Linked DNA regions of Homo sapiens: regions 1, 2, 3, 4, 5 and 6 are each linked to region 7. Evidence: promoter capture Hi-C in 16 types of primary human blood cells and fetal thymus (Javierre and others, 2016). All regions are on one chromosome and are shown on one strand. Each heading gives the region's core, a stretch centred on a gene start or on the middle of the fragment in contact. The rest is flanking DNA. Distances are from core to core; before and after follow the strand shown.

Region 1 (3,237 bases), core at 63-2,562, 430 kb after region 7:
TCAATGTGGGCTGGGGAGGTGGGGGTTGGCATGGTCATTTTATGGCGGCACCACTGAGTTGGGAACACACTAGTCGGTGCTTAAGACAATGGCTTGCATTTTAAAGGGTTTGCTTTTCATGAAAGGATGGTTTGCTTCTCTAGCATGGGAAGAATTAGATTAAATTCAGTAATTAAAAAGGTTTTTTTTTTCTTCCTTTTCTCTCTCCTGATATTTGCTGTTCAGGTCACAGCACACTGTGCGGGAATGGCAATGCTGTTGTTGACAGAGAACAAGAAATTCATGTGCTGACGGGGGCAGAGGGAGGGCATCTCACGGCGAGATCAGCCTTGATCTGCCACCGGATTACAGGGGCCTCAGAAGCGGCTGATTAATAATTCTGCAGGAGCCCTTGAGCTGGAAAGCTGGCGCTCTGAGTCTAATAATCCCCAGTCGTTGTAATACAAAGGAAGGACAGGAATTGAATTCACAGTTCTGGATTGTGAAATTCAAAATTCGAAAGAAACAGGGATCCACTTCTTCCTGAGTGTGTTTGTCAACCTAGCTGCCTGCTTGTTTGTGTTAAATGGCTACTGTGCTTTTTGAATCTAAAATCTGATTATATTTAATTAGTACAGGCATCTGGGATTTCTAATACACAAAGAGTTATTAAAGTAACAAATCTTTCTAAAATATGTTTTCTATGAAAGAATGTGTTAATTTATGCGGTAACAATTTTTTAACATGAAATAATTAACATGAAAACTGCAACAGTTAGTAATTCTTCGTAGTCTAATTTATACTTGAATTTTCCTCCAGACAATAATCTATTCAATTTAAACCCTCAATACTGGGAGCATTTGAACAGACACATTTTTCTTCTTCTATTTAATACATAAGCCTAAACTTACAGCAGTCTTATACAAAGACCCGAATGTTCCTATTTTTATTTACAGTCCAAAGATCCAAAGATTATGTTTCCTTGACATTTGTTTCATTAATTTTGAACTTAAAAAACAAACCAACCAAAACCATAGAGCAACCCCAGTTCCTGTCCTTCATGAGGATTCAAATCAGGAGAAAGGATGATAGAGGCAGAGCCTCCATGTGGAAGGAGCCCTGATGGGAGCGATCAGGAAAACCCAAAGTGGGGTGGGTGGGTGTGTGTGTGTGTGTGTGTGTGTGTATGTGTGTGTCAGAGAGAGAGAGAGAGAGAAACACAGCTATTGGCATCCATTGGATCAATATTATAATAATATTACTATTACTACTACTGCCAACTACCACTATCAGCTCAGTGTTGGCTTTGTGCCAACTGCTTTATGGTTATTCACAGGGAAGCCATACAATTCTATGATATAGATAACTATTATTATCCCTATTTTAAGAGGAAGAAATAAAAGCTCAGACAGGTTAAGCAACTTGTTCAAGGTCTCACAGTGAATTGGCAGCAATGCTAGGATTTATACCAAGACACTTTGATCTCATGGGTCATGCTCTTAACCAGTCCAGGCCCTGCCCTCTTTGGGAGGGGACTGAGGTGTATGTGGGAAGAAGAAAAGAGGTCAAGCTATCCAAAAAAAACCCAAAAAACAAAAAACAAACCAAAATAAAACAGAACAAAAAAACTCCAAAGTGTTGTGGGGAGGAGCTGGAAGAAGTGAATAATACCAACAACTTCTACTAATTGTCTTCTTGAATTCTTACAACCACCTTAAAGGTAACCAACACCAATCCTATTTTATGATGAGAAAGGTGAGGCTCAGAGGGGCCAGAACTTATGCTCTAGGAATACGGCGTCAGGATGTGAACACAGGCTTATCTAGCTCCAAAGCTCTTGTGCTTCCCATCACTCCAAAGACAATCTTGGAGTGTGCAAGGAATATCAATGCAATAAACAACCCTTTCTGGAGGTTCCTGCAGCCACAACAGCATTTGATTCCCAGAGAGAGCCATGCACATTGATGAGAGACAGCAGGAGAGCATGTCTCACAAGAGTGTGGGGGGGTTGGTGACCTTGGTTATTTCCATTGCTGTAAACAAATATTTATTAAATACTACTATGTGCTCTGTGTCTACAAGGGCCCGCTGCTAGTCTTTAAACTAAATCACTTCTATAGAGAAGCAGTAAGACCGACTCCACAGATACTCGGGAGAACTGCTCCAGCCGTGCCCACGCAGCGTGTGTGTGCTCATGCAGCGTGTGTGTGCTCATGTGTGCTCATGTTGATGTGTGTATGCACATGCCTCAGTGAAAATGCTGAGAAGGCCCATCTGATATTCAGACTTCACAAGATTAAAAACAAGAGAGGCAGCGCAGAGGCAGGGATAGTTCTCAACAGAGAATGCAAATATGAGAAAATAGGCAAGCTGGCCGGAGATGAGGACAGTGGATGTGTGACTCCCCGCTGTGTCCGGGGTGAGGGGGCCCTTGGAGCATGCAGGTATATCAAAGTGGTGACTGCCCAGATCCACTGACTGGCCTAGGCTATAAAATAGGGAGACAGTATTTTTTTTCTTGAAAGATTGATTTTTTCCCTATTTATTACTAATAGTGATTCTCTTTAAAAACTTTTTAGACTGTTTTCAAGGAAAATGTATGTCAAATACAAAAAGTTGAGGTGATAAGGATGATTTTTACATTTCACAACTCTCAAAGAACTTTTATAGATAGCCCATGTAAGTTTCACACTAATGATGTGAGGTGATCATTTTTATTATCACCATTTTACAGATGATAAAAATGAGGCTCAAAGAGCTTAAGTAACTGGCCTGCGGACACCAAGCTTGTAAGTGACAGAGCTGATTCAAAGCCAGGGATCCTAATGTCCAACCCCTGGTTCCTCAGTCTCACTAGGCTGCCTCACTAGCAGCTTAGAGGCAAGTACAGTACTGGCAAATGACACACTAAGTGTGTATTCACCTTTTTAAAAATATGTCCACAAAATCTGTTAGGCAGTAACTGCAATTGCTAACCTAGGTTTGCCCTGTAATTACCAATTCCACTGGAGAACACAGCCCAGAGAGATGAGGGCATGTGTGTATCACCACAGCAGCCGTATTTATAATGGCCCCAATTTGGAAATAACCCCAAATGTTCAGGAACAGTAGAATGGAGGCTCTGTGATATATTTGTACAGTGGAATACTACTCAGCCATGAAAAGAACTACTGTTCCATGCAGCAATATGGAAGAATCTCACAGACATAATGGGAAAGAAGCCAGACACAAGAGTAATACTATAGGATTCATGTCTGT
Region 2 (3,658 bases), core at 28-2,527, 390 kb after region 7:
TGCTTCTCTCTGCACGCTGTGTCATCTGATCACCCATAGGGCAACTCTAGCCCTGACTTAAGCCAACCTGCAGGCCAAGCATCTGTCACCACGGTCTCTTGATTCTTGGATCCAACTGGACAGAGACAATTTGATTAGCCAGTGGCCAATGGACTGTTTGTCCCTTGGTCAGGTGTCTACCCCTCAAATATCAGCTGTTCTGGTCGGGGGCAGGGTGGGGGTGTTATACAGTGAAAACACAACCTACTGTGCTCACCCTTCAATAGAGGGGATAGTGTGTGTGGAAGTTGAAAGAAAGAGGCGTGGCTGGGCAGGTCCTCCAAACAGGTCTCCTTCCATGACAGTGGGGGTCAGTGGGAACTACCACATTTTTTGAGGAGGAAAATAACATAATTAAAGCTGTAATTCTGGAAGATTACTTTCTACCATGTGAAGGATAAGACTGAAGGGGAAGGAGAAGTTGCCAACACGTATCAAACATATACCACGTACCATATACCTGGCACATGTATCTGTGTACCTAGCCCCTATGATGCTAGATACTGTTTGCATATTACTTTTTCTAGTTTTCACAAGAGCCCATTTTATTTATGAGAAAACTGTAATCTCAGTGCCTTGGGAGGTTCAGGTGGGAGGATTACTTGAGTCCAGAAGTTTGAGACCTGCCTGGACCAAAGAAAACACACACACACACACACACACACACACACACACACACACAAAATTAGCTGGGTGTGGTGGTGCATGCCTGTAGTCCTAGCCCCTAGAGAGGCTGAGGTGGAAGGATGGCTTGAGCCCAGGAGTTTGAGGTTACAGTGATGAGCTATGATTGTACCACTTTATTCCATCCTGGGTGACAGAGCAACCCTGTCTCTTTAAAAAATTAATAAATAGCCCAGGTGTGGTGGCTCAAGCCTGTAATCCCAGCACTTTGGGAGGCCGAGGTGGGTGGATCGCCTGAGGTCAGGAGTTCGAGACCAGCCTGGCCAACATAGTGAAACCCCGTCTTTACTAAAAATACAAAAAATTAGCCAGGCGTGGTGGCTGGCACCTGTAATCCCAGCTACTCGGGAGGCTGAGGCAGGGTAATCACTTGAACCAGGCAGGCAGAGGTTGCAGTGAGCCGAGATCACACACCATTGCACTCCAGCCTGGGCAACAAGAGTGAAACTCCATCTCAAAAAAAAAAAAAATTAATAAATAAAAAATAAAAGAAGCCAGAAGGGAAAGTGAAGTAACTTGCCCAAAGTCACACAGCTAGTTAGTCAATGGTAGAATTGTGATTTGAACTTAAAAGCTGTCCAGACTTGAAATTCACACCAAGCCTGAAACCTACCGGGATAGCCCCGTGTGCCTCTCTGCAGGTGCCTCATGTGCTGTGAGTTCGGACTGAGCTTGTCATCTTCTGCCTGTTTTCTATTCCTTTTCCATATCACCATCCTCCCAGTCACCTAAGCCCAAATCTCTCTAAATCTCAGTCTCCTTGTCTGTAGAACAGAGATAATAATAATGTATCCCAAAGGTTGTTCTGAGAATTAACTTAGAGGATTCTCATGAAGTGCTTAGCACCATGCATGGTGCTGTGGTGTTGCCAGCTGTCCCCAACCTTTTTGGCACCAGCACCAGTTTCATGGAAGACAATTTTTCCATAGCCTGGTGGTGGGCATGGGGGTGGGGGGAGGGTTTCGGGATGAAACCATTCCACCTCAGATCATCAGGCATTAGCTTCTCATAAGGAGCCTGCAACCTAGATCCCTTTCATGCAGTTCACAATAGGATTCAGACTCCTTTGAGAATCTAAATGCCACTGCTGATCTGACAGGAGGTGGAGCTCAGGCAGTAATGCTCACCCACCTGCCGCTCATCTCCTGCTGGGCGGCCCGGTTCCTAACAGGACACGGATTGGTACCACTCCATGACCCAAGGGTTGGGGACCCCTGGTGTCCGCAGAATTGACAGAAAGAGCAACTTATTGGCTGTGGGGAACCAAAGGAGTATGACTTGGCGTTTTATTTATCTAATACAGGAGCTGGCAAACTTTTCCTAAAAAAGGCCAGATAGTAAGTATTTTCGGCATTGTAGGTCATATAGTCTCTGTTGCAACTACTCAACTTTACCATTGTTGGGCAAAACCAGCCATGGACAAGACATAAATGAATGAGTGTGCTGTGTTTCAAGAAAACGTTATATACAAAAACAAGCAGGGGCCGACTGGACCCAAGGGTTGTCTTTTGCTGCCTCATGGTCTTTGCCCTGCCTCATCTCATGAGGGCGAGGCCATGTCTGCTTAGTTCATCGATTTTTCTCCAGGGTCTAGTGCAGTGCCTGGCCCATAGTAGACATTCCATAAATATTTATTAAAGGAATGATTAAATGAGAGAAAGCAAACAAGCAAGAACAAAAGAAAGACTGAGAAGAGACAAAACTTTGGGATCACCTGGATATCTGTTACAGGGTTCTGTGTAGGAAATAGAAACCATGCTAGAGTTTTTAAGCAAAAAAGAATATAACATGAAGAATTGCAAACTTGTTGGAAAGGCTGGAAGAGAGGGCTCTAGGCTGGGCCTCCGAGGATGGCTCCCAGAATGTGGTAAAATCAATCTGTCAGGGGTGCTATCACCTCTGCCACAATCAGGAAGGAGGACTCAGGAAGCTGCCACTGGGACTGTTGACTGCAAGAACATCATGGCTGCAAGACAAGGCCAGAAAGTGGTCAGCAAGCCAGGAACAGCGTGAATTACTGCCACCACCGCATTTGCCAGGCAGAGGAACCTAGCCACTGCCACGTCCACAAGATTCTTGATGCCCATGAAGCTGGAGAGTGGCTATCAGTAGCTCCATGATCTTGCTTTGCAGCAGAAAGTAGCCAAAAGCTGCAAGACATTGGCCTCTGCCTTCCAAGCTTTGTGCAAATAAGTCTAATTGGTGTAGCTTAACTCACAATCATGATCCTAATGAAAAGAGACTCTGGGCAGTGTAGTTTTTAGCTTCCTAGACTCTGCAGCACCAGGAGGCACCCTAGAAAGATGTGGGAATGGATTCATGCAACATTTAGCATAGAGTATACATTCTATTGATTGATTGCTACAAAGTAAACTATCCCAAGGTTTAATGGCTTAAAGCCACAGTCATTTGTTTTGTTCAGAAATTTGAAATTTGGGCAGAGCTGGGTGGGTCCAGCTTGTCTCTACTTAATGATGAGTCAGCTGGGGTAGTTCAACATGGGTACCACCGTGTAAGCAAGTCCACGCACACATGGGAGCCCAAGTGGAGAGGAACAAAAGCGCCTATCAGTAGCCCCAGCTGAGCTCCTGAGGTCAACAGCTGGCATCAACGTAGCAGTGTGTTGATGCAGAGCCATTGTGAAATGCAAGAGCCCTTGTGATAGCAGCTCCTCCGGCCACACCCGAGCTGCGCTAGCTGATGCCGTGTGGAACAGGGGTGAGCTGGCCTCGATGAGTCCTGCTCAGATTGCAGACTCGTGATCAAAATAAATGACTGTTTCTATTTCTGCCACTAAGTTTTGGAGTGGTTTGTTATGTAGTGAGAGATCACCAGTACGTGCAGGTTGTGCTGCATGGGAAGGAGGGAGGAGAACAGATGGGGCAATCAACAAGAAATGAAGCCGCCAAAGCCAGAGATGGGTAATGGCTGACCT
Region 3 (3,225 bases), core at 3-2,502, 300 kb after region 7:
GAGTTAAAACAGAAACTACATCTTTGTGTGCAACGGTTCTTTGAACAATTAGGACAGCAGTGATCCTATCAGATAGCTTTAAAACCCTCCTGATTCATACTGCTGAACTGAGTGGTACAACTTGTTGATCTTTCTGGTAACATTGTTATCTCTAAGGATTGATAAAGAATTGATGGCAGACATGGTGGTTCATATCTGTAATCCCAGCACTTTGGGAGGCTGAGGCAGGCAGATCACCTGAGGTCAGGAGTTCAAGACCAGCCTGGCCAACATGGTGAAACCCCATCTCTACTAAAAATAAAAAAAATTAGCCAGGCTTGGTGGCAGGGACCTGTAATCCCAGCTACTTGGGAAGCTGAAGCAGGAGAATCACTTGAACCCAGGAGGCAGAGGTTGCAGTGAGCCAAGGTCACGCCATTGCACTCCAGGCTGGGCAACACAGCGAGACTCCATCTCAAAAAAAAAAAAAAAGAAAAGAAAGAAAAAAAGAATGGACAAGGTTTTCCATTTAAAATCCCAGATGGCAAAGCAAACCAAAGATTGAATTATGAGGATTTTGTTTCTTTGTTTGTTTACCTTCTTAGCATTTGGGAAGAGCACAGGGATGAATCTGAAATTCATGCTTCCTTGTTTTATGAACTCAATCTGCATCTGAAACCAAACAAATGTGAAGGTTTAATTTCAGGAATGAGGATGAGGAGTTAATGGTACCCATAATCATGCACGTCCACATGGCATTTTTATTCTGATTTCCATACTTGAGTGCCACACACTTAACATTTTAAGGCCTCCCCATTACACATCTATTCCATTCACTCATCAGTCGTTTATTGGAGGCCTGTTAGAAGTCACATTCTATGTCAGACTTTGGGTTTTAAGGATTAGGATACCTTCCAGGGTATGCTGGAACTGGCTTGCAGCAGCTCACAAAAGCTTGTTGTGTGCATCTCTTCCTAATTCTGTGTTCAGTGACTTCACACTGATAGCTTGAAATTGGCGATGGTATTGGAGAGTATTTATACCATGGAAATAGGTAAGTGCTACAAATCAGGAGAGCCAGCTTAGCAGAACACCACAGATACAGTCCCTATCTTCACAAAGCCAGCAGTCTAGTGAGCAGGCAGAAAGGGAAATTACCAACCAGAGTGCCGGGTGAAAAGTATTAACAATTGCTCTAGAAGCCCAGAATGGGGGCCATCCATTCTACATCAGAGATTGGAAGGACAGTTACAAAAGAGGGTTCATTTGGGCACTGAAAGAAAAGATTTTGGTCAAGTAGGGAAAACAGAGGCAGAGGCAACAGCATGAGCAAATGTCTGGAGGTGTGAAAGTGTGTTGATGTGGTTGGGACCAGCTACTAATGCACTGTGACTAGAGCACAAGATGGGCTTGGCAGAGAGGGGATGTCAATTGCGAAGAGCTCCATCTGCCAGGCTTTAGGTTCCTCACACCAGTTCCAATATGCTCTGACACTGTGGTAGCCCAAGAAGATTTAGCTACCAAGAACTCTCTCAAAAATCAGAATTTTCAATAGGAGGGGAGTTAGAGTCTTCCAAATCCTGTGACCAGCACAAAGCTTTCAGTCATCTGATGAGAAGGAGACGAGGAATTATGTGTTTCCAACCATTTCATCTTCCAATTCATTTTTATAACTGAGAAGTTTTCATTGTGCATGGAAATAACAGAACAGAGAAGAAAGTGACAGTGGTGATAGCTGGTTATTGAAATCACCATAGAAACCCCTCATAAACACACACTCTCACATAGTTGCATACGCACACACACACACACACGATCACACAACACACACAAATCCTCCACAAGGTGTTTTTTCGGAACCACCTCTCTCTAAAAACCATAAGATAACACCAAGAACATATTTTAAAATGACCCAAGTACTGTGCAGCTAGAAGCACCCACCACACCAGCACCGAGTACACATGAAAGGAAGGGGATGGGGTGCATAAGTTACAAGTGAAGCACTGAGTTTTGTTTGACTTCTAGGACTCCGTATACTGTGAAGTTTGGCTTGTGCACTAGGCTGCCCAGCCTGTGGAGGGGCCAGCCAGCAGCAGTGCATTTTTATTTTCTCTCACCCTTCCAGAAACTGAGTTTCTGTAAACTAATTCACTGTATGATGCAGTTACTCATCAGTACCTCTGCACTACCTCTGTCATGGCCAAGTTCTTGTTGTTCCAGGGTTTTCTGTTGCCTAGAGGGGTGCAGGAAGTCAGCCAGGCAGTCAGGAAGGCACTTCTGTGTCTGACCTCTTCGACCCCTTCTATGATGAGTAAGGGCCCAAGACATTGTGGCCCAAGAAACCAAGTTTGGCGACAGTTTGGTTCCAGTTGGTACAGTCAGACAAGCTCTGAGGCCAAGCTGTGTATTACTGCCTGGCTACACCACACACCCACAGAGCTAGACAGGTTTCCTTAGGAACTGGCTGAGGCCTCGAGCCCTTCCCACGCACCAGCTGTCAGCTTCTGGGACTGGCAGGTTCCTAGAGATGCAGACAGGACATTGGGTGCTCTGAGGCCATGCAGACATGCATCAGACAACCAAGGGCCGGCAGCACCCCGAGCCAGCCATGACCTTTTCAGGCAGTTTACTCCCAGGAATGATACCTTTCCGGGGCACTGTACAAGGGCTGTGAGACTGGTTGAGACCAGAAGAGGAGGGAGCCTTATCTCCTGACTCCCTGGCCTCACTTTTTAACCTCATCACCTTGCCTCGGCTCTTCCTTCAGTTTGGTTGTGAGCTCACGTGAGTGGTCTGCACTTGGTGGAAAGGGAGACAGAGACCATGAAGACTCAGATGGGGAATACCCACCCTCCTACTTTCCCACGCTGCTGACCCACAGGACAGACCTGGGACCTACATCTGCTTCCCCTGAGGTAAAGCTGTGTGCCCCGAGACAGCCTGACTGTGCCCTCCCCATCTTCCCATCTTAGTGACACTCTATGCCCATTCCAGGTGCCTTCCCCCTCATGAAGTGTTAGAGCTGAAATGGAGCTTATCAGTTCTAGTCCAGTGATTTTCCAAGCCTTTTTAAATCTCAGAATCCTTGGTCAACAAACAAGCCTGAGAAGTACAGACCAGCTCTGGCTGAGGTAGGGGTGGGAGGCGCAGACCCAGCCCCTCCTCCAGCACATATGGGCACCCACTGGGAACTCCACAGGACAGCCTGAAAGTCACAAGTGTAGCACCGCCTCCTAGTCAAGCAGA
Region 4 (3,607 bases), core at 508-3,007, 450 kb after region 7:
CCCATGAATTCCCCTCTCCTCCAATTTAGTCCTTAACCTTTCCCTGGATGTATTTTTTTTCTAGCTTAATTCAGTTCCTTTTCAATCTATCCTGGATTCTATCCCTAATTCATCTCTTTCACTCTTTAAAAAAAATCAGATTTGAGTTGTGGGTTGTTTTCCTCCCCTCTAGACATGACCAGAACTGGTTTGTGTTAAAACTGCCACCTGTATGCAAAAAACCAGAAATCTAAGACCTTGATTTGAAATGGTTACTGCAGGAGACCCTTTCCACACTTATCTAAAAGACTCTAGTCTGGGCATGGTGGCTCATACCTGTAATCCCAGCACTTTGGGAGGCCGAGGTGGGCAGATCACCTGAGGTCAGGAGTTTGAGATCAGCCTGGCCAACATGGTGAAACCCCAGCTCTACTAAAAATACAAAAATTAGCTTGGTGTGGTGGTGGGCACCTGTAATCCCAGGTACTCGGGAGGCTGAGGCAGGAGAATCACTTGAACCTGGGAGGCCCAGGCTGCAGTGAGCTGAGATTGTGCCATAGTATTCCAGCCTGGGTGACAGAGCAAAGCCGTGTCTCAAAACAAAACAAAACAAAAAAAACAAACGCCAGGCATGGTGGCTCATGCCTGTAATCCTAGCACTTTGGGAGGCCAAGGTGGGTGGATCATGAAGTCAGGAGATGGAGACAATGCTGGCTATCATGGTGAAACCCCATCTCCACTAAAAATACAAAAAATTAGCTGGGTGTGGTGGCATGCACCTGTAATCCCAGCTACTCAGGAGGCTGAGGCAGGAGAATTGCTTGAATCTGGAAGGTGGAGGTTGCAGTGAGCCAGGATTGCGCCACTGCACTCCAGCCTGGGCAACAGAGCGAGACTCTGTCTCATAACAAAAAATAAACAAAAAAACAAAACTCTTGAATCTCTTGATATCTAAGCATTATTGTAACTGCTGGGAAATAACAAAACACAGTCTTAATGTATATGAAGATAATCAAGCATTAAAAAAAGTCAGATTAGATAGATATGATATGAATAAAGGAATAGTATTTTCAATAACTTCCTCCCTATAAGAATTCTGAGAAAAACGCCCATGAGTACTTACTTGTATTTTGTTTTCCTCCCCTAGGTGTGTGAGGACTTGGATAAGTAAAGGCATTTATTTACCAAGCACCTGGATTGTGATCTGTGTTCATCATCTTCTTCTTCTTTTTTTTTTTTTTTTCTTGAGACAGGGTCTCACTCTGTCACCCAGGCTGGAGTGCAGTGGCATAATCATAGCTCACTGCAGCCTTGACCTCTCCAGGCTCAAGCAATCTTCCTACCTCAGCCTCCTGGGACTAAAGGTGCACATCACCACACCTGCTAACTAAAAAAATTTTTTTTGTAGAGGCTAAGAGTGGTGGCTCATGATTGTAATTCCAGCACTTTGGGAGGCTGAGGCAGGCAGATCACCTGAGGTCTGGAGTTCGAGGCCACCCTGGCCAACATGGTGAAATCCCAACTCTACTGAAAATACAAAAATTAGCTGGGCATGGTGGCATGTGCCTGTAATCTCAGCTATTCGGGAGGCTGGGGCACGAGAATTGCTTGAACCAGGGATGTGGAGGTTGCAGTGAGCTGAGACAGGGCCACTGCACTCTAGCCTGGGGACAGAGTGAGACTGTCTCCCTATGTTGCCCAGCATGGTCTCAAACTCCTGGGCTCAAGTGATCCTCTCGCCCTGGCCTCCCAAGTGCTGGGATTACAGGAGGGAGCCATCACGGTGGACCCTGTACATCTTTTCTTTGGCACAACTGTAAGAACTGGTTACTGTACACCTTTGAGATCTGTGCCCAGTCAAAAAGCATGCCCTTAAAATGACTTGGTGTTGCAGATATTTCAATATATTATCCCTGAAGAAACTAATGATACTCTGTGCCACTTTAGGAGGCATCACATTAAGTCACCTCAAGACTTTTGTTATTTGCCTTATATCCTCCCCCTGCACTTTCAAGCCTTAACCAAGCCTGGCAATTAGTTACTATTTCAGCACTAGGTGCTGAATGAGCAGCAGGTGCCCCCAAAACCCAAGGGAGAATGCTGGAGCATTCAATTGGAATCTGTGTGTGGGAACCATTTTTAGAATATTTAACTGTGAAAGAATCCAGATTCTAAAATGAAATTTCAATTCATTATGCTTGAATATAGGTATCATGAGTTCACTGTCAAATTCTTTTGTGAATTAAGTTTCACTGAAGAAAAGAGACATTGCGTATTAGCTCCTCAGTGACTTTTAGAAACACCAAAATGTGCAACAATTCTTAATCTAGCATTAGGTGGCGTAAAGACTAGTACGTCAATTATTTGTGAGAAATGGCTTTCTGGGTTTGTACCAATAACCCAATTAGAATGCCGTGTAAAACAGTGGTGAAAAAGGAATTGTTAGAACAATGGATTGCACCAAAACAATAGTATTTTAAGATAATGATAGTTAATTGCATATGTAAAACCGAAGGCATTATTTTAAAAAATAATATTCTTTAAAAACAAAATATTTAAAAAGTTGACCATTATAAAAATAACTTAAATATATAGCTGACAAATTCCCAGTTAAATCAGGGTAATGCTACATTTTGGTGGTACTTTTTATTCTGAAAGAACACAAAGATGTTTGCAAATCTGCCCTAAAATACAAATTAAATACAAATACCTTGATTCACTGATGACGAAACACAGTCACTAGGAGAAAGAAACAACTAAGAACCACTGAGTATTTGAGAGTGGGAAACAAAACAGATCCTCTTAGAGGAAATACAAAGGAATTAAAGAATAGAACAATCCAACTGGGGATTTGGCTAGGGTGTGGAGTCTAATCCCTCTTGCACTACTTAAACAAATCCATGGTGAAATTAAATAGCAGAGCCAAAGGTTGGGCTTGGTGACTGACTTTTCTCAACTTCCTTTTTAGAGAGGCAAGACCCAAGGTGTCAGGAGGAGGCCAAGTTCCTGCATTTGGGAAATCATGGCTCCATCTCTCCTTCCCTCAGGGCTGGCAAACAGCCACTGGCAGTTCTTCCCCTTGGGAGTGCCTGTTAATCCTCATGGGTCAGAAGAAGGGAGAAAGGTTATCCCTTTTAGATCCCTTCAGCCTACTGAACACCTTCCTAAACTGCTACCAGTTGAATAGTTGGGCCAAATAACTGCTCGTCACTGTTTACTACCAAAGAAGCCAACTGAGGTTCCAAATCACTGTAGTATTTCCCAAGTTGGGGGGACACACTGTATGTGAGTCACTTTTACCGGGCATAGAAGGTGTCTTTTCAGCACTCTTTTAATATTTCTGATCACACTTAGGAGAAAAATCTTAGTTTAATCTGTGGCAATTACTTGCTACTCTCCCCTCTCTTCCCAACAGAGGGAGTGGACTGCGGGCTTAGAAACTTGGGTTGGCAATAATATATGCTCTAGCTAGCATTTCATATTTTTATGGCTACTTTTAATCTATGACAAGTTTTACTGGCTTTTCATTTAGGGTATTGATAGAAAGTTTTCTTTCAAAATAAGTGAGCAGGCTTCAAGAGAAACATTAAGTTAATAATAGTGCAAGTATTACACAGGGTAAAAACCG
Region 5 (3,662 bases), core at 250-2,749, 320 kb after region 7:
GGAGTCATAAGCTCCATGCTCATTTGTGTCTTGATCCCAGCTGAGGGGTCCAGATATCTGTTACCACCTCTGTGATGTTTGCCGTATTTCTCTACTGTTAATTACTTGAGTGTTTTCACGAAATTCACTTTTTTTTGTCCTAAATAAAAACATCTGCGAAATCACCAGTTTGGTATTCCAGCTGGAGAGCTCAAAAAACTTTTCAAAAAACTCTACACAGGCTCCTCTTTTCGTAAGATACTTAGGAAAATCCAACCATGAAGAACCTCTTTCACACCACCATTCCTACCACAATTTCCTTCATGTCCCGAACCCAAGGCTAGGAAAAATTATCTGTATGATAGATATAGAATCACTGCTCTGTATTTTCCTCCCCCAAGTGGACATACACGTGCATGTGCACACACACGTGCGCGCACACACACACCCCACTCTCCTCTTAAGAAGAGGTAAATGAATGAAAACTTGGCTCATCCTCCTGGGAACTAGCCAACCAACTGGCAATACCCTCCAACTCCCTTGGTCCTCTCCTGCTACAGCCTACGTGCACTTGGAGCCAGGGCTGCTTGAAGAGGGCTGGGCTCAGAGCAAAGCCAGAGCTGGCAGTGACTTATGTGAATGTGCAACCTGGGAGAAAGTGGGTCCCAGCCAGGACCAGGAGCAGGAGGGTCCCCAGGGAAGGGCAGCCTGCTGCTGCCAGAGTTAAGCATAGGAGAGACCTAATGCTTAATCACGCAAAAGAATAGAACTAAAAGCCCAGAGGAGAGATGCAGGGAACCAAGTAAGGGTGAGAGGGAAGGGCTCTGAGGGAATGGCCCAGGCCCAAAGGGGGTAAGGTGTTGGGAAATACGAGAGATGCAAGAGGACTGAAGTGAGCCACATGGTAGCCCTGCAAGATGAGCAATGAGCACCTCCTAGTGATCCAAGCACTGCCCCTCCTACCCACATAAGCAGTAAGACGATCCAGGAGGAGGCGTAACTAGTTAGGACAAGAAGGAAGGTGTTTTGTTTTGTTTTTTAAAAATCCTCATTGATCTTAAAATTATTTTGATTCTTTTAAGATCAACCCTCATTGATCTTAAAATTATTTTGCTGATTATAAATGTAATAATCAAGTTTGCCTGCCATGTAGATAGGATACATATATGGATGTACAGCAAAATAAAACTGGCAAGTAAACAAAAAAGTGACTGATAGGTTGAAACCAAAATGAGAAGCTGAGAATGTGGATAAAAATTGATTCTTAAGGCCAGGCGTGGTGGCTCACACCTGTAATCCCAGCACTTTGGGTGGCCGAGGCAGACAGATCACCTGAGTTCAGGAGTTCGAGACCAGCCTGGCCAACATGGTAAAACCCCATCTCTACTACAAATACAAAAATTAGCTGGGTGTGATGGCGCGCACCTGTAACCCCAGCTACTCAGGAAGCTGAGGCAGGAGAAACCCTTGAACTTGGGAGGCAGAGGCTGCAGTGAGCTGAGATTGTGCCATTGAACTCCAGCCTGGGCAACAGGGCAAGACTCCGTCTCAAAAACAAAAAAAAGAACTGTATTCTTAGCTTGGCAAAGCAGTCAGGAGCCATCTACGTTTTCAAAGGAACATTCAGGGGAATGATGGCCTCAAGTACAGAACAAGAGATAAATAATGTGCACGTTCACTAGTGTGGCCTCCTCCAGGTTCCCAGTGCCTAGACTCAGGAAACTGTTTGGGTGACCTGGCGATGTGCCCAAGCTAGTCTCTCAAGTGTGGTCAGATTCCCTGGACTCAATCTATTATTGTCTCCTTTGACCCATGTCACCACCTGGGTCCTTCCAGTCATGCTTCTTCTGGCAAAAGTGACCATGCCCCTCCATCCCAGACTGTCTCCTGGCAGGACCCCATGACCCTTGCCCTGATATTGCTTAGGCCTGGTCATGACAAGTAGTAGGGGTTTAAAGAGGGGGAGGAGGAGAAACAGATCTGCCTAGATCTATCCCTGCACCTGGATGACAAAGGAGACTGGGACTTGAAGGGACTGTTCTCAGAATGGAAGACAGGCCCACAGAGACTCCTATGGTCTAGGACAAGGTCTACTGCACAGGCTTCACCTTGGCAGCCTTCTCAGGGCAGGGCGGATATATTCCAGGGGGTCCAGATCACCAGTTGCAGTTTCAGGGCAACAGAGCAAGTCACTACTGCTCCTTTCCCTCAGTTTAAAAAATAGCAAAAAATGCCACTGCTATCAGGTCCCCAGGTAGGGGCCAGCCCTGCTTTTCAATGAGCCTTGCATGAGCAGACCCTTTACAAACCCAGCTGTAGCTAGAACCGTCTTGGTGGACTGCACTTACAATCCACCCTGCTAGATCAGGTTCCCGCCCCTGTAGATCTTGCCTCCCACTACACTCTCACTGGCCCACTAAGCTCTGGCTTCATTTTGAATATCCCAAACTTGTCCTCTCCTTTGGGATCCTGAGTTTGCCACCCTCTTTGTCCAGAATGTTTTTGCCCTAGATTTTCACAGACTGACTTCTTGCCATTCAGAGCTCAGCCCAAATATCACCTGTCCAAAGAGTCCTGCCTCTTCACCCAGTTACTTTATCCCATTCCCTATTTTGCTTTCTTCGTAGTTCCTATCATGGGTTTGCATAAGTAAGCATGACTTTTACCTGTCAACTTCTTGCCTGCCTTCCCTACTAGAATATAAGCTCTGTGAAAGCATGGACTGTGTCCTCTTACCACCATGTCTCCAAGGATAGTACTGGCACCCAGGGGATGCTCAATAGATGAATGAATGAAGGCTCAATAGTTACAAAGCCAACTTACAGAAAAAGAGAAGCCATTTAGGACTGCACAATCTATTAATACTTTCTAGGGCACAGGTCTCCTAGACCAGGGGCTCCCAACTCCCAGGCCACAGGCTGGTATCAGTCCATTGCCTGTTAGGAACCAGGCCACACAGTAGGAGGTAAACAGTGGGTGAGTAAGTGAAGCTCTGTCTGTATTTACAACCACTCCCCATCACTTGCATTACCGCCTGAGCTCTGCCTCCTGTCAGATCAGCAGCAGATTCTCACAGGAGTGCAAACCCTATTGTGAACTGCGCACATGAGGGATCTAGGCTGCACGCTCCTTATGAGAATCCAAGGCCTGATGATCTGTCACTGTCTTCCATCACCCCCAGATCTAGCTGCAGGAAAACAAGCTCAGGGCTCCCACTGATTCTACATTATAATGAGTTGTATAATTATTTCATTATATATTACAATGTAACAATAATAGAAATAAAGTGCACAATAAATGTAATGCACTTGAATCATCCCCAAACCATCCCCATCCCCAGTCCATGGAAAAATTGTCTTCCATGAAACTGGTCCCTAGTGCCAAAAAAGTTGGGGACCACTGCCCTAGACTGTCTTAATTCTCTTCTGCTGTCCATTTGTTTTGGGGGTTTTTTGGTTTAATCGGTGTCTCCCTCCAGAAGTAGGAAGGAGAAACACAAGGTAAAAGAGGAGAAACTTTGCCAGTGGCCTTAAAAGCCTTTATGAGGAAAAAGCTGAAAGTATCTTGAGAAGTTTTTAATGTTTGAAGCCATTTTTCTTCCTATATCCATTAATGAATGGCTAATATTGTTTTATTTGCTTTAAAAGGACTACCAAGCTCTAATCATAGGGTTTATTTCTTTT
Region 6 (3,206 bases), core at 13-2,512, 370 kb after region 7:
ACTAGTGCTTTCATTCTATTTCTGGCGCTGTTAGCCTGACCCTAGGGAACCAAAGACATTTTGCACTGAAATAAAGAATAACACTTAACAGCTATAGTCAAGCTCATGACAAAATTGTGAAATAGGCAAAGTTTTTTACTAGGATTTTCCCATCATCTCTGGCTGGGTGTTTCTCCTCTTACTGTCCCCTCGCTCAGCTCCAAGGCAACTATTGCTCTCTAGGTGCCAGGAAAACAAAACAAACTATTTTACACTAAAGTGTCATTGACTCCCTGTGAGTTCTACCCCAAGGACATTTGTGTTCTATATGAGTCTGTATGCAATCAAGAGAGAGAAACTATACAGTAGTTTGAACAGGGAAAGTGTAATATAAAGAATTACTCATTATAACAGGAGACTAAAGTAACAAAGAATTGATTGGTAAGATGTAAAAAGAACTCTAAAGAATATCCGAATGGCAGCTATAAGGAGCAGCCACTACCTTTAGAGCTGAGATAGAGGCCAAGAAAGAGGCCCCCCAGGGCTGAGATCCAGACTTTTTGAAGGCTCAGCTCTGGCATAGGGGATGACAGAGAGAACAGAGAGGTGAAACTTCCTGGAAATCCATCCTCTAGGGTGTCCGGAAAAGCTGATCACAGGAAGATATTGTACCAGATGCATTCTGCAACAAAACCACCCAAGGTGAGTGAAGTGCCCAGGAAGCTGCTGGCCACTGGGTGCCTCTGGTCACCATGCATTATAGGAGCCAGGCATAGGAGAAGCAGCCTGTGCCACAGGAGCCTGCTAAGCTTCAGGTGTCTGCCAAGCAAGCATAAGGGAACCAGGACAGAAACCCCTTCCTCCTGCAGTGTCTCCCCAGACCCCTCTACTGAAGCCGCAAACCACAGTATATATTTAAATGACTAAACATATATACACACAGCTTAACATTGTGCCAGATGCAAGAGAAAAATATCTGAAGGGCACAGCTCCATTTTTGAAGATCATGCAATGAATGGTGAATTTAAAGTCAAGAGGCCACAAACTTATAACCAGCACATACTGTAAAAGAGAAAGAAAAGATCAAGGCAATGTTGAACCCAATGGGATGAATTTCTAATGGTAAAGTTCCAGAATAAGCAGGCTAGTGAAGGTATTTTGGAGATGAAGAGCTTTCTAATGGTCCACAAATCACACTATATAGATGACATAAATGTATATCACAACTGATGGGATTATTAAATGCTGCTTCAAGGCAGGAAAGGGATGCTGTCAGGCCTTGAGCTCTTAGTTCAAGTTCACCTCCATTCCTAGGTGTGTCTAGGACTGACTAGTTGCCACCAATTCCATTTCTGCTTTCAAGCACACGAAGAGAAAATATTCCCCAGACTTCTTGCTGCTAGGTGGGGCATGCAACAAGTTCTGGTCAATTGAATTTGAGCAGAAAGCCATTTCCAGATCTGGCCCCTAAAACATCCCATTAGACCATCAGTTCACTGATGGCCAGATGAAGGTAGGGGATCCAGTAGAAGGCTCCAAAGGAGTTCTCGGGGATGGTGGTGCCCTAAGGTGAAAAAAGCCCAAGTGATAACTTAGAGGAGAGATACTCTGGAGAGCTGCTCAAATCACACTGCACTAGAGTATGACTGAATTGTGTTAAGCCTCTGATATTACTGGAATTTTTATTACTGTAGCTAGTGTTAATTACCCTGACTGATACACTGTGCAAATTAAGAGCCCTAGGACAGTCTCATTCTTAAGCTTAAATAGCAGAGAGATAGTACTCATTATTCCTTTAGTTTGAGCTTGTCAGAATGAGGAAGCTAGATCATACATTCTCTTTGGTTCTATGTATGTTAGGTGTGGGATGTCTGAGTCCCAAAGTAATTTACTGTGGCCCAGTGTGGAGGGCAAATCGTGGCAAACCGGTCACTGCACTGAATAGACAAAGACACTCTGAAAATAAAACATCAGGGCATGTTCTTCTCTCGCTTCTGGGAATTAGTTATTTGTATAAAGAGGCTTGACATGGAGGCACACAATAGAATGTGTGACGGAAGGGACCACTTTCCCTGTTAAAGCCCAGCCCCCACTCTGTCAGGTAGCTCCACCCGGGTCCACACTGTTTGCCCACTGGAAGAGCTTCCAAGGTCTGGGCTCTATTGTTCACTGATGAGCAGAAATAGACTTGGTCACATATAATGCACAAATATTTTTAAAGTGCCTTATTTTTCATATTTAAATTATATTAAATGTATATTTATATTAAATATGTATATTAAATGACTATATACACACACATTTCCCTCCATTTTCCCCTTCAGATAACCTCCGAATATATATGGACTTTTTTGGGGTATGAATGGATGAAAAAGGAAAGATACTGCACATAGGTATCCTTCCAGGTCAAACGAGTGAGATCTACTTCTGCAGCCTCCTCTGATCTCACAGCTGTCAGGCTATAAAGTCAGCCAGAGAACATCTCTGAGACCTCAGCTGGGGAGAAGCTATCCCCTGACCGCTGAGATTCAAGACCCTCTGGAGAACTGCCCTGACCCTCAGGTGGTTTCTTTATGTGACGCCCACAGAGTTAGCACGGATTTCCTGAAGGTCTGCATCCTGTGATCCAACACCTCGTGAGTAAATCATTTTTAACAGCAGCATGGCACAATATAAAGTTTATGGAGGATGGACGTAAATTTGGTTCTGGAAAAAGCATGGTTCCCTGTGGTGACAGGCAGCTGGGCTGGTGTGCTCAAACACCCCCTTTATTGGATCGCAAATGATATCAGCTGGAGGCCTTGCTAGCCCCTAACAGAACACACAAAACAAGGATCTGAGAGAGAGAGAGCCAGTCCCATGCTAGCACCTAGGATCCCAAATCCAAACTTGGAGCTGCTTTTCCTACTATGGAATGTGCTCAGTATAGGAAATCTGTTACACTGAAGGCAGCACCCTCTAACTCCCTTTTTGGAGGTTTTAGTCAATTCCAGAGAAACCAGGGTTAGAAAGAAGGAGGCTGGAGGGGGAAGCGAGAGAGAGAAAGAGAGAGAGAGAATTTTATTCTCCTGTCTATTGACACATGAGTATGTGGTTCTACTTTAGAATTCTGTTTTGGGATGGAGAATCTCCAAAAGAACTCACTAAATCAAACATTTTTAGGGGCTTTTTACACTGAAATCAATATCAGCGCCCCCACTCTCGATGTGCCCCGGGATGTGCCACAG
Region 7 (3,699 bases), core at 419-2,918:
AGGAGAGACCCCAGCTGGGAACTGTTGGGTGGCATGGGTAGCTAAAACTCGAATAGAAATCTCATCTTTCTGTGCTGAAAGGAAATAACGGTTAGCCCAGAACTCTATTTTCAGTGAAAATATTTTCAGGAATCAAAGTGAAATAAAGACATTCTCATATGAAGGAATGCCAGCTGACCTGCTCTAAAATAAATGCTTGGCGGGCCGGGCGCGGTGGCCCACGCCTGTAATCCCAGCACTTTGGGAGGCCGAGGCGGTCGGATCATGAGGTCAGGAGTTCGAGACCAGCCTGACCAACATGGTGAAACCCCGTCTCTACTAAATAAAAAAATTAGCCGTGCGTGGTGGCACGCGCCTGTAATCCCGGCTACTCAGGAGGCTGACGCAGGAGAATCGCTTGAACCTAGGAGGCAGAGGTTGCAGTGAGCCGAGATCGCACCATTGCACTCCAGCCTGGGCGACAGAGCGAGATTCCGTCTCAAATAAATAAATAAATAAATAAATAAATAAATAAATAAATAAATAAAAAAGAAATGCTTGGCGGGGCATGGTGGCTCATACCTGTAATCTCAGCACTTTGGAAGGCCAAAGGCAGGCGAATCACTTGAGGTCAGGAGTTCGAGACCAGCCTGGCCGACATGGTGAAAACTCGTCTCTACCAAAAAGCGCCACAACACTCCAGCCCGGGCGACATAGGCTCTGTCTCAAAAAAGAAAACAAACAAACAAAAAAAAAAGTGGGGGTGCGGGTGGGGGGAAGACTTAATGACTAAACGAATAAGTCTGGAGAGACGGGTTGCAAGGGATGATGAGACTAAGGTTTGTAGTCTGGGAGCCTAAGTGGATGAAAGTTGGAAGAATCAGGTGGAAAAGAACATTTCAAATAGACCACAAAGAAAAGTATATAACATTTTGAGGCTGTGGTACGCTTTGTTAAAGAGCAAAAGGAAAACAATTCCTCAAATCAGGGGGGAGGGATAGCATTAGGAGATATACCTAATGTTAAATGACGAGTTAATGGGTGCAGCACACCAACATGGCACATGTATACATATGTAACTAACCTGCACGTTGTGCACATGTACCCTAAAACTTAAAGTATATAAAAAAAATTCCTCAAATCGATGCCACGCTCCACTTCTTTACAACGATGGAATTATTTCAGGAATTGGAATTATTTCAGGAATTGTGTTTGAAACCACAGCTTTGGATCCCGATTTCTTTCTTGAGCTACTGTTACACTGTTTATATACGGCCACTAATTCGATGACTGAGCTTGGGCAGATTGTTAATTATTTTCTATGACTTAATCTTTCTATCTGTACAACGGGGATAACGTGGAATTTGGAGTGTTGTGAGGGTTGAGATAATATACGTGATAACTTACACAATGACGTTCAACAAATACTTGTGGAGTGAAAGATGCGCGATTCATTGACAGATCTCAGGGATTTCAGAAAGCTGTATAAGGACCAGCTCTTCAGGCTCCCTTCGCTCCCCAGGAGACCGGGGAGCCGGCGCGAGGCGCTACAGTGTAATTCTTGGCCCCTTTTCCTCATAATGGTTTGGCCGCATTTTTACCTCTTGATTTCCCTGGTCCCAGGCTGCAACTTCAGCTCGCTCCGCCATGGGGCGCACGTCCGCCAGCCTCTGTGAGCTCAGCTAAGTATGATGCCTAGGCTAGAGAGCTACGTCCGGTCTCCTAGGCAACCATATCAACTTCCGGCTTGAGGCACGATAGCGGTTGGCGAGAGGCCACATTTCCGCCACGTGACCCGCGCATGCGCCTGCTTGCTGGAGAGCGAGCGTCTTTTGCCACGAACACCTGCGGCGTGCCGAAGTTCCTCTTCTCTGCCCCGGTTCCGGGCGGTCCGCTGGGAGGTGGCGCCCGGAGGGACACCCGTGCCTGGGGTCGGGGCCAGTGCTCTTCTCGGAGCTCCAGAAGTTCTGCTGAGAAGCGCGGCGGCAGCAAGACGACTTCTCCGGAGCCGCCGAGCTGGAGTTAGAGGTGGAGCTCCGTGGGGCCGGGCCCCCGGCTGCGGGGCAGCGGCTCCTGCAGGCGGAGGCCCCGGCGGAGAATGAGCCGGAGCCGGAGGTGGTGGTGGTCTCCTGGCAGAGCGGTGGGACCGGGAGCAAGCTGCGGTGGTTCACCACCTTGATGCTGTGTGCCTCCTTCCTGGGGCTGGTGAGAGCCGGGGCTGCAACACTCCCAGGCCGGGGCGTTCGAGTCTTGCCTTCGCCACTTGCAAACTGACCTTGGGCGCGTTACCTAATCTGACTGGGCCTCAGTTTCATCATCTAGAAAATGGGCACAATTCTAATCTTGGAGGAAATAGATTTTCTGAATACGTCTTTCAGCTCCAGCAAGCTTTTTTTTTTTTTTTTTTTGACGGAGTCTCGCTCTGTTGCCCAGGCTGGAGTGCAGTGGTGCGATCTCGGCTCACTGCAACCTCTGCCCCCAGGGTTCAAGCGATTCTCCTGCGTCAGCCTCCCGAGTAGCTGGGATTACAGGCGCCTGCCACTAAGCCCGGCTAATTTTTGTATTTTTAGTAGAGACGGGGCTTCGCCATGTTGGCCAGGCTGGTTTCAAACTCCTGACCTCAGGTGATCCGCCCACCTCGGCCTCCCAAAGTATTGGGATTACCGGCGTGAGCCACGGCGCCCGGCCCGGCAAGCCTTCCTACGTCTCCTTCGTCGGATGGGAAGGTTGCAAGAGGGGTTCACCAGGTCTTTGGCCGCTGCTCTCCGCACCCACCCACTCAACCCCCAAATTATTACACAGAAAAACTACTTTTCTGGAATTTCTTCCTGGTGATCTGACCAAATTCAGCCAACCGCTTAATTTTGCAGATAAGGAAATAGGCCCGGAGGGGAAAGTGACTTTCTGGATCACACAGCTGGTTAAGTGATAGAGCCAGAAATATGTCTTTTACTCTGCCCACCATCCTATTTATTAATAAAACCAACCTTTAGATTCTTAAATGTTTTTCTTGGAGCAAAGGGCAAGCCTAGAGGCGCCTTTTGCCAAACCCCTGGGTCGCCACTCAATTCACTTTTCGGAAACCTCCTCCTTATCACTTGATAATTATGATCCTGGGGGAGTTGAGAGGATGAGTCCTCCCAAGAGTCATGTGTGGTCACTTACCATCTCAGGGACTCTGAGCCACAGTTGTTTCTTAGAGTATTTTGATTGGGGGCGGTGGGGAGGGGTGAAGAAAGAAATCACTTCAGACTTTTGGTGAGTCGTCACTGACTTGTCCGGTCCTGTTGTAAATCCTTTGAAGACATGAACTAATTTGATTAGATTCTGTGCTCAGGCTTCTCTCGAAGTACGAGGTGCTTGCTGTGCACCTGGGCCCATAGTGGTCCGTGGTCTTGGACTGTTACGAGTTGGGCAGGGGGCGCACCCCATGCATTTAGAGCAGAGCAGGGCAATTAGAATCAGTTATTCTGGAAATGTAGACTGATTGGAAACATTTTTTTCTTTAAATGTCCAATGAATTTCCTCTGAAAGTCAATTGTAATCCTTACCTCTTGCTGACACTGCATTGAGTAAAGTTTTATTGTTAAAGTCATTCTGTACTTGGGCGTGTAATATTTTTTAAGCAACCTTTACTGACTAATTCTGATGGCGTGGAAGAAAAGTGTAGATTTAGAAACATTTAAATTGTTTATCTCCTGTATGTTTTATATGTATAGT

Evidence for each region. The method cuts DNA at HindIII sites, captures the fragments that hold promoters and counts their contacts. A CHiCAGO score of 5 or more calls a contact.
Region 1: a fragment that was not itself captured here is called in contact with the fragment with the promoter of SLC60A2-DT in region 7 in 1 of 17 cell types (endothelial precursors); the score reaches 6.3 in endothelial precursors.
Region 2: a contact is called between a fragment that was not itself captured here and the fragment with the promoter of SLC60A2-DT in region 7, in 1 of 17 cell types (neutrophils). The highest score is 5.4, in neutrophils.
Region 3: a fragment that was not itself captured here is called in contact with the fragment with the promoter of SLC60A2-DT in region 7 in 1 of 17 cell types (neutrophils); the score reaches 5.0 in neutrophils.
Region 4: a fragment that was not itself captured here is called in contact with the fragment with the promoter of SLC60A2-DT in region 7 in 2 of 17 cell types (naive CD4 T cells and non-activated CD4 T cells); the score reaches 5.7 in naive CD4 T cells.
Region 5: a fragment that was not itself captured here is called in contact with the fragment with the promoter of SLC60A2-DT in region 7 in 1 of 17 cell types (neutrophils); the score reaches 5.3 in neutrophils.
Region 6: a contact is called between a fragment that was not itself captured here and the fragment with the promoter of SLC60A2-DT in region 7, in 1 of 17 cell types (neutrophils). The highest score is 8.9, in neutrophils.

What each region holds. Positions count from the first base shown.
Region 1 is chr6:111,686,467-111,689,703 of GRCh38, forward strand. The region is part of intron 12 of FYN (FYN proto-oncogene, Src family tyrosine kinase); the gene reads right to left. Among named protein-coding and RNA genes, the nearest start is that of TRAF3IP2, 82 kb to the left of the region's middle. The HindIII fragment of the contact is 2,901 bases long and covers 1-2,763 here.
Region 2 is chr6:111,648,238-111,651,895 of GRCh38, forward strand. The region is part of intron 2 of LOC105377944 (a long non-coding RNA gene); the gene reads right to left. Among named protein-coding and RNA genes, the nearest start is that of TRAF3IP2, 44 kb to the left of the region's middle. The HindIII fragment of the contact is 3,246 bases long and covers 1-2,900 here.
Region 3 is chr6:111,562,389-111,565,613 of GRCh38, forward strand. TRAF3IP2 (TRAF3 interacting protein 2) reads right to left here. Exons shown (of 9, transcript NM_147686.4): 8 at 577-651. It also overlaps TRAF3IP2-AS1. Among named protein-coding and RNA genes, the nearest start is that of TRAF3IP2, 42 kb to the right of the region's middle. RefSeq lists a silencer at 1-145 and enhancers at 2,011-2,683, 2,848-3,225. The HindIII fragment of the contact is 643 bases long and covers 932-1,574 here.
Region 4 is chr6:111,704,179-111,707,785 of GRCh38, forward strand. The region is part of intron 6 of FYN (FYN proto-oncogene, Src family tyrosine kinase); the gene reads right to left. Among named protein-coding and RNA genes, the nearest start is that of TRAF3IP2, 100 kb to the left of the region's middle. The HindIII fragment of the contact is 4,924 bases long and covers 1-3,607 here.
Region 5 is chr6:111,580,449-111,584,110 of GRCh38, forward strand. All of the region lies in intron 2 of TRAF3IP2 (TRAF3 interacting protein 2), which reads right to left. It also overlaps TRAF3IP2-AS1. Among named protein-coding and RNA genes, the nearest start is that of TRAF3IP2, 24 kb to the right of the region's middle. The HindIII fragment of the contact is 9,291 bases long and covers 1-3,662 here.
Region 6 is chr6:111,628,597-111,631,802 of GRCh38, forward strand. No RefSeq gene overlaps it. Among named protein-coding and RNA genes, the nearest start is that of TRAF3IP2, 24 kb to the left of the region's middle. The HindIII fragment of the contact is 952 bases long and covers 787-1,738 here.
Region 7 is chr6:111,257,544-111,261,242 of GRCh38, forward strand. It overlaps SLC60A2-DT (SLC60A2 divergent transcript), which reads right to left and starts at 1,669. Exons shown (of 3, transcript XR_001743807.2): 1 at 1,581-1,669. It overlaps SLC60A2 (solute carrier family 60 member 2), which reads left to right and starts at 1,796. Exons shown (of 4, transcript NM_153369.4): 1 at 1,796-2,184. The coding sequence starts at 2,158. It overlaps LOC124901378 (a long non-coding RNA gene), which reads left to right. Exons shown (of 2, transcript XR_007059708.1): 2 at 1-167. RefSeq lists enhancers at 1,446-1,505, 1,826-1,905. The HindIII fragment of the contact is 14,878 bases long and covers 1-2,365 here.